Linked DNA regions of Homo sapiens: all the other regions are linked to region 2. The links are contacts of gene promoters, found by promoter capture Hi-C in human tissues and cell types (Jung and others, 2019). All regions are on one chromosome and are shown on one strand. Each heading gives the region's core, a stretch centred on a gene start or on the middle of the fragment in contact. The rest is flanking DNA. Distances are from core to core; before and after follow the strand shown.

Region 1 (4,363 bases), core at 711-3,210, 500 kb before region 2:
CGGCCTGGGGTTCTGTATTGTATCTGGCAGCTCTGCCTCCAGGGGATTCTGATTCATGCTGAAATTTGGGAACCACCGGCATGGAGGCTTTGCCTAGGTCCAAAGCCCTGTTCTGACCATTTCAATGATGAAGAAAGTGTCTGATCCTCACATTCATTTCCCTGTTACCCTCTTTACCTCCCTGTTTCCCTGTTACCCTCTTACCTCCATCCTTCTTGTCTGATTTGCTCTGTTCACTCATTTACATTTCCTGTGCCTTTTCACATTCGTGACTTCTTAGTTCTGTCTGTGATTTTATAAAGATAACTCCCAAATAAAAATTGCATGGATCTACTGTTTATTGGTTGTAGCTAACTCAGCCAGAGGTTAGACTGTGCATATTTTGACACAGCAACTTGCCCAGGTTCATAAGTGCATTTATAAGACCCTTCTGCATCAGGTTTCCTGCCTGCATATGTACATATTAAGTAGCTCTAGTTACTGAGGACTATGAACTCAAAGGAAAGGAAAACTCCATGCTTAAAAATGGTTGAAGAACATGCTCTTGCATTGATTCTGGGTTGGACTCAGCTACATGGAACTGTTGATGTTTAAAGAACCTTAAATGTGGGAGGTAGAGGAAATGGTGTATTGTATTGTTTATGACAGGTAATAACGAACCACCAAGGTTAATTGGATGATTGACTGAGGTATTCGTTGGCCAAGGGCCTAAGAGCATTATGTAGTATTTTGCCAGCATGTTATACAGAGAAATGGAGATTAAGTATTCTCTATTCTTGGCTGGATATGGTGGCTCACGCCTATAATCCCAGCACTTTGGGAGGCTGAAGCAGGTAGATTGAGCTGAGGAGTTTGAGACCAGCTTGGTCAACATGGTGAAATGTCGTCTCTACAAAAAATACAAAAATTAGCCAGGCATGGTGGTGCACTTCTGTAGTCCCAGCTACTCAGGAGGCTAAGGTGGGAGGATGGCTTGAACCCAGGAGGTTGAGGCTGCAGTGAGCCGAGATCACACCACTGCACTTCAGCTGGGCGACAGAGTGAGACCCTGTCTCAAAAAAAAAAAATTTTTTTTCAAGTATTCTCTATTCTTGTTAATGGCACATTTAATTACAAACAGAAAACCTCAGCCCCTAATGTCTGATGAAGGCTTTTTATTTTTACTTTTTATTTTTATAAGCTCTGTTAGACTTGAGAAAGCTTTTTAAATTTTCTTTTTTTTAAGCAGAATCTGATCAAATATTCAATATAACAGGAAACAGTGCATTTTATGCTTAAGGAGAAGAAAATGTAGCACATCATGATTTAGGTTTTTAATACATTTCTATTTTGCAGATTGGGATTGAGACAGTTATGTTTGGTTTGGACAGTGACCCCAGTGTGATGATTGTCTGTGTGGCCTTAATGTTGATCAGGGTTGTTCTCATGAAAGATCACTTCAAGATCCATACAACCAAGATTTCAGGACTGTTGGCAAAATAGGGGAAAGTAAGTCACTATGGTGACGCAGACACTCAAAAACATCTGCATCGGGAAACTACTTCATTTGGGTTTATAACGACCCCCTTTTTTTTTTTTTGAAATGGAGTTTTGCTCTTTCACCCAGGCTGGAGTGCAGTGGTGCGATCTCAGCTCACTGTAACTTCCTCCTCCCAGGTTCAAGCAATTCTCCTGCCTCAGCCTCCCAAGTTTATAGGCTCCGGCTAATTTTTGTATATATATATATATTTTTTGAGACGGAGTCTCGCTCTGTCACCCAGGCTGGAGTGCAGTGGCGCCATCTTGGCTCACTGCAAGCTCTGTCTCCCAGGTTCACGCCATTCTCCTGCCTCAGCCTCCTGAGTAGCTGGGACTACAGGCACCCGCCACCATGCCCAGCTAAATTTTTGTATTTTTAGTAGAGACATGGTTTCACCATGTTAGCCAGGATGGTCTCGATTTCCTGACCTTGTGATCTGCCCGCCTAGGCCTCCCAAAGTGCTGGGATTACAGACATGAGCCACATCGCCCGGCTGCCTAATTTTTGTATTTTTAGTAGAGACAGGGTTTCACCATGTCGGCCAGACTGGTCTCGAACTCCTGACTTCAGGTGATCCACCCACCTTGGCCTCTGAAAGTGCTGGGATTATAGGCGTGAGCCACCACAGCAGGCTATAATGACCACTTTTTACATAGTAGTCAATATAATGCATTTGATGCATATTGATTTTTATCTTGTAGAAACAGCAGTTAGACAAAAACATGGACAAATCCAATATAGTTGCAGAATAGAATGCAAGTGGGCAAGTCTCAGTGCTGTCAAAATTGGAGTGCTGCTGGCCAGAGCTAGGAGGGGCCGCTGCGCTGGCGACCGAGCAGCAGGTGCTGATGCTCTCACATAGTCCAAGGGCAAGTTCAGTTGACAAAACAAGAAATGGAGTTTTGAGATTATTATTTGAAAGTGTAAAGATAAGCAATAAAAGAATCAAAAGGAACTGAGGATTTATAGAATAGTAATAAAAGGGAAACTATAGGATTTTAAAGAAGAATCATAGAGTTAACCACCAGAAAAGTATTAACATGTGTTCCCAGCTTTGACAGAAAACTTTTTCTTTCTTTTTTTTTTTTTTTTGAGTTGGAGTTTCGCTCTTGTTGCCCAGGCTGGAGGGCAATGGCGTGATCTCGGCTCACTGCAACCTCTGCCTCCCAGGTTCAAGCGATTCCCCTGCCTCAGCCTCCCGAGTAGCTGGGATTACAGGCATGCGCCACGCCCAGCCAACTTTATATTTTTAGTAGAGATGGGATTTCTCCATGTTGGTCAGTCTGGTCTCGAACTTCCGACCTCAGGTGATCTGCCCACCTTGGCCTCCCAAAGTGTTGAGATTACAGGTGTGAGCCACTGTGCCCGGCCTAGGAAAGCTTTTCTTTACCAATAGATCTGAGTGGTGGGGAGGTGGAGAGGATGGCAATTTAATTGACAATAGAAAGAATAACAGCAGAAAAGTTCGCTTTCACTGTATTTAGGAGCACTCCAAAAGGAGTGGCTCCAGGAGCCGCCAGGGGTGAGAGTTCATACATCAGCATCGTAAAAATAGGGTGGTTAGGACTTTGGAGGGAAGTATGGAAGGTTTTCAGAGGGCTTGCTTACACAGGGTTTACTCTTGGTGTTAACAGGCACCTTGAGAGGGGATGTATGGCAGCTTCATGATCAGAAATCTCTGCCTTTAATCATATATGGGAAGCTCAAAAAAGGCCTCTAGGCTGAGTGCAGTGGCTCACCCCTGTAATCCCAGCACTTTGGGAGGCCGAGGCGGGCGGATCACTTGAGGTCAGGAGTTTGAGACCAATCTGGCCAACATGGTGAAACCCTGTCTCTACTAAAAATACAAAAATTAGCAAGGTGTGGTGGTGTGCACCTGTAATCCCAGCTACTTGGGAGGCTGAGGCAGGAGAATCGCTTGAATCCAGGAGGTGGAGGTTGCAGTGAGCTGAGATTGCACCACTGCACGCCAGCCTGGGTGATAGAGAGAGACTCCGTCTCGGAAAAAAACAAACAAACAAAAAAAGTATCTAGCTGTGTCTGCTGTATCTCAGATGTCTTCAGTCTAAAGCAGGGGTCTCCAACTCCCGGACCATGGACTGGAGCTCGTCTGTGGCCTATTAGGAACGGGGCCACACAGCAGGAGGTGAATGGTGGGTGGGTGAGCCAGCATTACCTGTCAGATCAGCAGCGGCACTAGATTCTCATAGGAGCACAAACCCTATCGTGAACTGCACATGTGAGGGATCTAGGTTGCTTGCTCCTTATGAGAATGTAACTAATGCCTGATGATCTGAGGTGGAGCAGTTTCATCCTGAAACCATCCCCCAACCCAACCCCGGGTTAAAAATTGTCTTCCACAAACCCGGTCCCTGGCGCCAAAAAGGTTGGGGACTGCTGGTCTAAAGCAATCTTTCTTGCCTCCTGGTGGGTTGTGGGTCCTTTCACTGGGAAGCTGCATTCCAGGTGGGGATGAGCAGGGCAAAGGAAATTTTCATCATAAACTTTTCTATGCAAAAGTTTACAATGTGCAATTTGATTTCCTTCCATGCCCTTAAATTACATCAATCAAAGAGAAAAGGGGAGAAGAGCCCCAGCCCAGCTTGATCCAGTGAGCTATGTTTGGAGAGGAAGCTCTGGGCAGGGGCTGGGGAAGGTGGTGTTGGATCCTGTTGGGGGACAGGCCAGGGAATCTGTGAGACAGATGATGGATGTGATGGGATGTGCCAGCAGAGGCCGGCGGGGCCAGCGCATCCCTCCTACCTTCCTCCCTTCTGTGGACACTTGGGGGAAGTCGTAGGTGACTAGTGAGTTAAAAAATGAATTACCAATGAGTAATTAGTT
Region 2 (4,408 bases), core at 35-2,534:
TTCTTCCTGAACTTCACGAACCCTCCCAGCCAGGCCACAGGATGTCAGGGGCAAACACCCTGAACCAACGGAGCTCAGGTTCCCTACCACCCCGCCCAAGCCCGCTCCAAGCCCAATTACCCTTCCCCTTCCTCGTCGTCCCATCCTCCCTGATGCCTCTTCCAGGGTGCTGGGCCGCGCGGCAAGAGCTCCAAGGCAAGATTCAAATGCCCTGGGGAGACGGCTGCGGGACACCTGCGGCGGGGCCCGGCAGGGAGCGCGAGACTGGAAGAGAGGCCAGGAGGGAAGGAGAGCGACGCGGGGTTTTGGGGGAGGGGCTGCGTGGGGCGCTGAAGGGGAGCGCGAGGAGTGGGAGGAAGTGAAGGAGGAGGAAGAGCACGGTGTGGGGGAAGCGCAGGAGGCAATAGGTGGGGCGGGACGGAGGGCAGGGCGCTGCGTCGGGAGAAAGTGTAGAAGCGCTGGGGAGAGTGCCCACGACGGGAGAGCCCAGGGGCGCGAGGGCGCGGGAGTGTGGGCGGGGCGCAGTGGGGATGGGGGCGGGGGCGCGGGATGTGGTAGGGGGCGTAGTGGGGAGAGAGTGCAGGAGTGTGGGCAGGGCGCAGTGTGGGGAGGGTGCGGGAGTGTGAGCGGGGCGCAGTGGAGGGAGTGCAGGATGTGGGCTGGACAACCAGTGGGAGAGGGCGCGGGAGGTGGGCGGGGCGCAGTCGGGATGGGGGCGGGGGCGCGGGATGTCGGCGGGCCGCAGTGAGGGGGAGGGCGCGGGAGTGTGGGCGGGGCGCAGTGGGGGAGGGAGCGGGAGTGTGCGCGGGGCGCAGTGAGGGGAAACTGTGGAATGTGGGCGAGGCGCAGTTGGAGAAGAGTGCGGGGATGTGGGCGGGGCGCAGTGAGGGGAAACTGTGGAATGTGGGCGAGGCGCAGTTGGAGGAGAGTGCGGGGATGTGGGCGGGGTGCGGTGGGGGAGGGTGCGGAGATGTGGGCGGGGCGCAGTGGGTGGAGAGTGTAGGGATGTGGGCCCAGCGCAGTGGGGGACAGTGTGGGGATGCGGGCGAGGCGCAGTGGGGGCGGGGGCGGGGATGTGGGCGGGGCGCAGTGGGTGGAGAGTGCGGGATGTGGGCGGGGCGCAGTGGGTGGAGAGTGCGGAATGTGGGCGGGGCGCAGTTGGGGAGCTTGCGGGGAATGTGGGCGGGGCGCAGTGGTGGGAGGGCGCAGGAGTGTGGGCGGGGCGCAGTTGGGGGAGGGTGCAGAGACCTGAGGGCTTGAGGTTGCCTGGCTGGCCCCGCTCCCAGAGGCGGGTGCCGCGCTGTCGCCCAGGTATCTGGGGTCTCTGGTGTCTGAGTGTCTCATTGTCGGCGCGAACACAATTGCTCCAGCCACAGGCGAGGCCTGGCCAAGGTGTGGGCGCATCTGGGGCAGGTCTTGAGAGGTCCAGCGCCCGGTGGTGCGGACAGAGGCGGGGCACCGCGGCGCTCGCCGCCGCCTCCCCGCAGGTGATCATCCTCCTGCAGGTGTCCTCGGGTCTCAGGTGGCTGCGTGTCTGCGCCATGGTTGACATTCTGGGCGAGCGGCACCTGGTGACCTGTAAGGGCGCGACGGTGGAGGCCGAGGCGGCGCTGCAGAACAAGGTGGTGGCACTGTACTTCGCGGCGGCCCGGTGCGCGCCGAGCCGCGACTTCACGCCGCTGCTCTGCGACTTCTATACGGCGCTGGTGGCCGAGGCGCGGCGGCCCGCGCCCTTCGAAGTGGTCTTCGTGTCAGCCGACGGCAGCTCCCAGGAGATGCTGGACTTCATGCGCGAGCTGCATGGCGCCTGGCTGGCGCTGCCCTTCCACGACCCCTACCGGCAGTGAGTGGGGGTCCTGGGGGGGCGGGGGCCGCCCGGCACGTCTCCCCCATGTTCCCCCAGGCCTCCCCCTCTGCACTGGGGAGCTCTTTATGACGCCCCCCCCCAACACCTCCCCGTCTCTCGGTTCACGTCCGGACTCCGGTAAATCACACTCAGTCTCAGTTTCAACCTCTCTTGGAGACCAGGGAGGGTGCAGACCAGATTCGAAAACCCAGGGCATCGGCACCCCAAGGGGGCTCGTGGAGCATGGACGCGGGCGCGTTTCTGCCTGGGGTCTGGAGCTCCGGGAATCTGCATTGCGAAGGAGCTCCCAGTGGTGGTGATGCTGTGAGTTCGCGGGCTCGGCTCCGGGAACCGCCGGCCCAATCAGCCCTGGACTCCCGGCGCCGCTGCGTCATCCTCCCAGTTAGTGGGCAGGAAGCACAGGGACATGACCCGGTGTCTGGATGCGGGGATGAGGGATGACCCGCGAGGACATCAGCTCTGTGACAGGCACCCACAGTGCAGGCCGTGGTTGGTTTGCTGGGAGGGAGGGACGGGGGCTTCAAGGCTGGCAGGAACCCAGGTGCTGGCCACCTTTGCGGTTTCATTTTTACCGACACTGATGGAATTTCATCACTAGAGAAGCATAAAACTCATTACTATAAACTTTATTACTCTAACTGTTGCAAAGGAGGGGGTAGGGATTGGCAGAGAGGGGATTACAGGGATTGATTGTTCTGCTTTTGGGGTGGGTCTCCTGTGGTCTCCTATGGTGTAAGAGTCCAGACTTAGGTTTAAAGCAGGCCTCGTCAAGTATGTTGTCCTGGCCACCCCCTTCTAGGTACCAATGTGAATTTCTGGGTTTTGCTTTACAGCCTCACATTTCTGGAGATTATCATTAAGTTGTGGCATTACCCCCTAAACTGATTATCATGAGATGACATTCCTTCTGGAAAATGAAAACTGGAAGCTAACTTTGGAAAGTTTTGTAGATGAGTAATTAATGGGAAGAAATCTAATTATTCCCCCAAACATGATTTTTGGTGATTCCCAGTGAAAGAGGAGGCCCAGGCAGGGCACCGCCCAGCCTTCCAGGGGGGTAACCTGCTTCTGGGAGCCTCACTCACACCGGGACTCTGAAAGTTCTATTGATAATGAATCTCCAAGATGGGTGGTTCACTTTGCAAAAGGATTTCTTACAGAATCAGTTCAAGTGGTGCTTTTAAAAACAGGATTGGACTTGTTTAGTACTCAAGTTATTTGTAAGCTTTTGAAAGAACGCAGGTTTGAAAGCGAGAGACGATGGCAGTATCATTATAGTAATTAGGCACAAAGCTCTGGCCCAGCTCTGGGATTTACTTGCCAGGTGATGGCAGGCAAGGTATTTTATTGCTGAGCATATGATACATCACGTGGTTGTTGTCAGGGTTGAGCTGATCACATATGAGCTCATGTGTCCGCTGGTTATGTCCCAGCTCTCTAGTCTATTGCCCCATTTTACAGATGTGCCATTGAGGCATAGAGTTCAGTTCTCCTGGCTCTGAGGACCCTCTTTCTGCCGTGCCCTACTTCCTCACTGAGGGGGTGGTGAGTCTTGGTCCCCAGCGGCACACAGATTGGACTGGGGAGGTCATCGCTTGGGGCCATGGAGACTGCTCGTCTGTTTCTGATGCTCTGGTCAAGCCTGTGAGCTCCAGCTGGAGGCAGTGAGCTGCGTGACGTGGGTCAGCTGTGTGCTCCTATCTTCTCAGCCTGGCTGGCCTGGGAGGGATTTTTCTTTTTGTAAACTTAGCTGTTTGTCCCTACCCCTTTCCACACTGAACTTCCTTAACTCTGTTGTTGTCATGTGTAAGCTAGGTAGTGGGATATTCTGTGGGAATTGTTGGAGCTACGCCCTAAATTCTGCTTATCCTACGTCTACAGGACCTTGGTGTTCCCATCTGATTGGCTCTTGGTTCAAAGACCAATCCGGTTTAGCCATGCCTTGCTCCAACTCTCCGGGGGTTTCCTGAGTTTCCATTGCCCACAGGACAGAGCCAGACATGGTTCAGTGCCTGGCATCCCCAGGGAGTGTGTTTGGTGAGTAGTTGAAGCAAGTGAGCAAAAGACAGTTCTGCAGAGAGATTTGCTTGGCCACAGCCTGCTCCTGGCTGAGATGACAGACTAGAGTCAGGAGTTGCCATGGCAACCCAGAAGTGTGGTTTATGCCAGCAACAAGGATGTGGCTGTGTTAGTTGAAGGCAGGGACCAACGCTGGTTGCAACAGTGCTGAGGACAAGGAGGAACTGGGCTCTTGGATTTTCCCCAAATGCTTAAAGTCCTAAGTTATTACCATGACAACATTCTCTCCTCCAAAAGCAAGTTCTTTTCTCTGTGGACACAGCTCAGGGCCCAGAGGGGATTGAGATGACATTAGGGAAAAAGTGAGGTTCTTTGCCTCTCATGTGCAGCTCCAAGGTTACATTTGTCCCCAGGCAGAGGCTGCCAGCATGGGGATTTGAGGGCTGGTACTGAGTGTCTCTTGGAATATCAGTGAAATGACCACCTCCACCCTCCTGATTCCTCAAAGCCCAGCCTGCTCTG
Region 3 (4,498 bases), core at 1,338-3,837, 280 kb before region 2:
AGGACATGGTGCATTGTTCTATGGAGCCACTCCAGCTCCAGCTATGGCTAAAAGGGGCCAAGGTACAGTTTGGGCCATTGCTTCAGAGGGTGAAAGCACCAACCCTTGGCAGCTTACATGTGGTGTTGGGTCTGCAGGTATGCAGAGGACAAGAGTTGAGGTTTGAGAGCCTCTGCCTAGATTTCAGAGGATGTATGGAAATGCATGGATGTCCAGGCAGAAGTCTGCTGCAGGGGTGAAGCCCTCATGAAGAACCTTGACCAGGACAATGGGGAGGGGAAATGTGGGGTCAGAGTCCCCACACAGAGTCTCCACTGGGGCACTGCCTACTGGAGCTGTAAGAAGTGGGCCACCACTATCCAGACACCAGAATGGTAGCTCCATCGACAGCTTGCACTGTGCACCTGAAAAATCCACAGGTACTAAATGCCAATCTGTGAAAGTAGCCACAGGGGCTGTACCCTGCAGAGCCATAGGGACAGAGCTGCCCAAAACCTCAGGAGTCCACCCCTTACATCAGTGTGGCCTGGATGTGAGACATGGAGTCAAAAAAAGATAATTTTGGAGCTTTAAGATTTAATGACTGCCCTGCTGGGTTTTGGGCTTACATGGGCCCCTTTGTTTGAGCCAATTTCTCCCATTTGGAAAGGGGGAATTTACCCAATGCCTGAATCCCCATTGTATCTTGGAAGTAACTAGCTTGTTTTTTTTATTCTATAGGCTCAAAAGGGAACTGAAGTGACAGAAGGAACCTGCTTTGTCTCAGATGAGACTTTGGACTTGGACTTTTGAGTTAATGCTGGAATGAGTTAAGACTTTGGGGCACTGTTGCAAAGGCTTGATTGTGTTTTGAAACGTGAAAAGGATATGTGATTATGGAAGGGTCAGGGGTGGAATGATATGGTTTGGCTCTGTGTCCCTACCCAAATCTTATGTTGAATTATAATTCCCAATGTTGGAGGAGGCACCTGGTAAGAGGTAATTGGATCGGGGGGCGAATTTCTCCCTTGCAGTTTTCATGATAGTGAGTGAGTTCTCATGAAATCTGGTTGTTTAAAAGTGTATAGCACTTCCCCGTTCTCTCTCTCTCCCTCTCTCTCTCCTGCCACCATTTGAAGATGTGCTTGCTTCCCCTTTGCCCTTCATCCACGATTGTAAGTTCCCTGAGGCCTCCCTGGCCATGCCTCCAGTACAGTCTGTGGAACTGTGAGTCAATTAAACTTATTTTCTTTATAAATTACTCAGTCTCAGGTAGTTCTTTATGGCAGTGTCAGAATGGACTAATACAAATATACATTGGATATGAAGGTGAGTCTGCTTCAAGAAAGAAAAGCATTTTATAATGAAATTATGAGACAATCTTGAAGGACATAATATTTGTTCTTAGATTTTATATTTTGAGTTCAACCAAACAAGCATTTGTTGACAAACTATTCTACACCAAGATATGAGTACAACCTACAGTAATTTATTGTCACACATAAATAAATAAGATATAGCATGGCAATTTCAACAACTGAGATAGGAATGAAGTGTTGTGGGAACTTGGCAGAAGCCAGGGAAAGGGGGAGAGCAGACAACTCTTAAATGCCTGTGGAAAGACCTAGGAAGGCCTACAAGTCAGCTCAGGCTACCATAACAAAGTACCACCCTGGGCAGCTTAAATAGAAACACACAGATGATTCCCAACTTATGATGGTTCAATTTACAATTTTTCTACTTTATGATGGTGAGAAAGCAATATGCACACCATCATTTTAAATAGGAATAATACAGGGTAGTCACAGGAGAATAGAACATTCCAGGCAGAAGTTTCACATGACTAGCAAAAAGAAACTGTTGAAATAGCTGCAGCAGCTATAGGCTGATAAGACTCTGAAAACCCAGGGTATAGACCAAGCTAGCTAAAACCTTCTGGACCCAACATGGTGCTGGATTTGACCTAGGTTTCACCTAGGACCTCATTATATGTTCATTAACATTCTAAATCATATACCCACCGGTGTTATGACGGTTCTGAGAATCCCCATATTTGGTGTACAAATGGGTGGCACCACAGTTCCAAGAAATCTCCACCTTTTTCCAGGAATCTTCATGGATATTCCACCCCTTGGTTACAGAAATTCATAAAGGCAGCAGTCCCAAACTCCCTTTTGCGTGACTCTCTTGAGTACACGTGCACTCCCTTTTCTTGAGTGTGTACTTTTCCCTTTACCATAAATCTCTACTTTCACTATTTTCTAACCCAGCCTTGAAGTCATTCTCCAAACAATGTTAAGAGCCTGGACATCAGCTGGGGTTCCTCATCTGGTCCCACCAGTGTTTGGGGACCTCCCCCAGCCCACTGGTATCAAATTCAGTAGAAATTGTACTTTGAGTACCCCTACAATCATTCTGTTTTTCACTTTCAATACAGTATTCAATAAATTACATGAGATATTCAACTATTACAAAACAAGCTTTGTGTTAGATAACTTTGCCCAATTGTAAGCTAATGGAAGTGTTCCGAGCATGTTTAAGGTAGGCTAGGCTAAGCTATGATGCTCAGTATGTTATTGTTTGAAACATATTTTTTTTTTTTTGAGATGGAGTCTCACTCTGTCACCCAGGCTGGAGTGCAGTGGCGTGATCTCAGCTCACTGCAACCTCCACCTCCCAGGTTCAAGCAATTCTCATGCCTCAGCCTCCCACATAGCTGGGATTACAGGTGCACACCACCGTGCCTGGCTAATTTCTTGCATTTTTAGTGGAGATGGGTTTCACCATGTTGGGCAGGCTGGTCTCAAACTCCTGACCTCAGGTGATCTGCCCACTTCGGCCTCCCAAAGTGCTGGGATTACAGGCGTGAGCCACCACACCCAGCCTGAAATACATTTTTAACTTATGGTCTTTTCAACTTGTAATGGGTTTTTCAGGACATAACGCATCAGAAGTTGGGGGACATCTGTATTCTTTCATAGTTCTGGAGGCTGGAAATCTGAAATCAAGGTTGTCAGGAGGATTAGTTTCTCCTGAAGCCTTGCTCCCTGGCTTGTAGACAGTTGTCTTCTCCCTGTGTCCTCACATGGTCATGCCTATGTTTCTGTGTCCTAATCTCCTCTTCTTACAAGGACACTAGTCGGATTGGATTAGGGTCCACTCATATGACCTCATTTCAACTTAATCGCCTCTTAAAAGACCCTGTCTCCAAATACAGTCATATTCTGATGTACTAGGGTTAGGGCTCCAACAGATGAATTTTGGGGAGGCACAGTTCAGTTCATAACAGAAGGGTACCTAGGGAAGATGACATTAAAACAAAGCATTGATGATGTTCACCATGTGCACATACCCAGACTGAGAGGGAACCCAAGTCCTGGCTGGGTCCTCAGCTTTGCAGAGTCAGAAATTCAATTTTGTAAATGCTCGGTCTCCCAGGAGAGTCTTGTGTGACTAAACTCACAGAGGCTGTGAGCTCACTGTACGCAGAAGCCCAGTTTGATCTTCTGTGATGAGAAATAGATTCCAAATAGGCAGAAATACTCGTGTTGGCTGGTGTGCCAATTTTCTCCCTGGAAGAAAGTGTCACGAGACACAATATTTCTCTTGGGGGAACGTCAAAAAAGAGATAATTTGAGCAGTGTTTTTCAAACTGCAGATCACAACCATTAATCGATCCAACTAAACAGAATTGATTTAGTAGGTTAACAACTACCTTTGCTAGTGGAATCTAATAGGATAGAATGAGACGTAGTGTAAAAAATATGGTCTCATCAAACATGCATCAAAGTGTTTTCAGCCAGTTACAGTGGCTCATGCCTATAATTCCAGCACTTTGAGAGGCCAAGGCAGGAGGATCACTTGAGGCCAGGAGTTTGAGATCAGCTGGGGCAACATGGTGAGACCCCATCTCTAAATTTTTAAAAATCATGAAGTGTTTTGTATGTTCCCATGTGTGTCTGTGTGTGCATGTGCATTGAAAGCAAGTCCCAATGTCAAATGTATTTCTTTCTTAGGAATGTGTTCAAAGATTAAAATTTGAGGCCATGCGTGGTGGTTCATGCCTGTAATCTCAGCACTTTGGGAGGCCAAGGCAGGCAGATCACTTGAGCCCAGGAGTTCAAGACCAGCCTGGGCAACGTGCCAAAATCCTGTCTCAAAAAAAAAGAAGAAGGAAAGAAAGATTAGCTGGGTGTGGAGTGGCACGTGCCTGTGGTCCCAGTTACTCAGGAGGCTGAGGTGGGAAGATTGCTTAAGCCTAGGAGGCAGAGGTTGCAGTGAGCCGAGATCATGCCACTGCACTCCAGCCTGGGTGGCAGCAATACCCTGTCTCAAAATAAAAGAAAATAAAAATGTGAAATGCCATACATTGGACAAACTTGAAAGCTAGATCTTTCCACCCTGATGCACTTGTCTCACTACAGGATTGGGTGTGTTCAATTGACCAGATATTTTGCCTTACTAAAATATCGCATGAGTAGAACTCTTAGTTGTAAAGGAAACACGCAAAAATAGTGTA

What was found. The method cuts DNA at HindIII sites, captures the fragments that hold promoters and counts their contacts. A contact is called where the count stands out against the background at its distance.
Region 1: a contact is called between a fragment that was not itself captured here and the fragment with the promoter of NXNL2 in region 2, in 2 of the 25 tissues and cell types used here (dorsolateral prefrontal cortex and spleen).
Region 3: a fragment that was not itself captured here is called in contact with the fragment with the promoter of NXNL2 in region 2 in 2 of the 25 tissues and cell types used here (liver and mesendoderm cells).

What each region holds. Positions count from the first base shown.
Region 1 is chr9:88,032,822-88,037,184 of GRCh38, forward strand. No RefSeq gene overlaps it. Among named protein-coding and RNA genes, the nearest start is that of LINC03026, 43 kb to the right of the region's middle. The HindIII fragment of the contact is 4,152 bases long and covers 1-4,036 here.
Region 2 is chr9:88,533,894-88,538,301 of GRCh38, forward strand. NXNL2 (nucleoredoxin like 2) reads left to right here and starts at 1,285. Exons shown (of 2, transcript NM_001161625.2): 1 at 1,285-1,843. The coding sequence starts at 1,542. LOC105376134 (a long non-coding RNA gene) reads right to left here and starts at 647. Exons shown (of 2, transcript XR_007061653.1): 1 at 121-647. RefSeq lists enhancers at 1,071-1,905, 1,906-2,739. The HindIII fragment of the contact is 10,556 bases long and covers 1-4,408 here.
Region 3 is chr9:88,251,841-88,256,338 of GRCh38, forward strand. No RefSeq gene overlaps it. Among named protein-coding and RNA genes, the nearest start is that of SPATA31C2, 120 kb to the left of the region's middle. The HindIII fragment of the contact is 8,068 bases long and covers 1-4,498 here.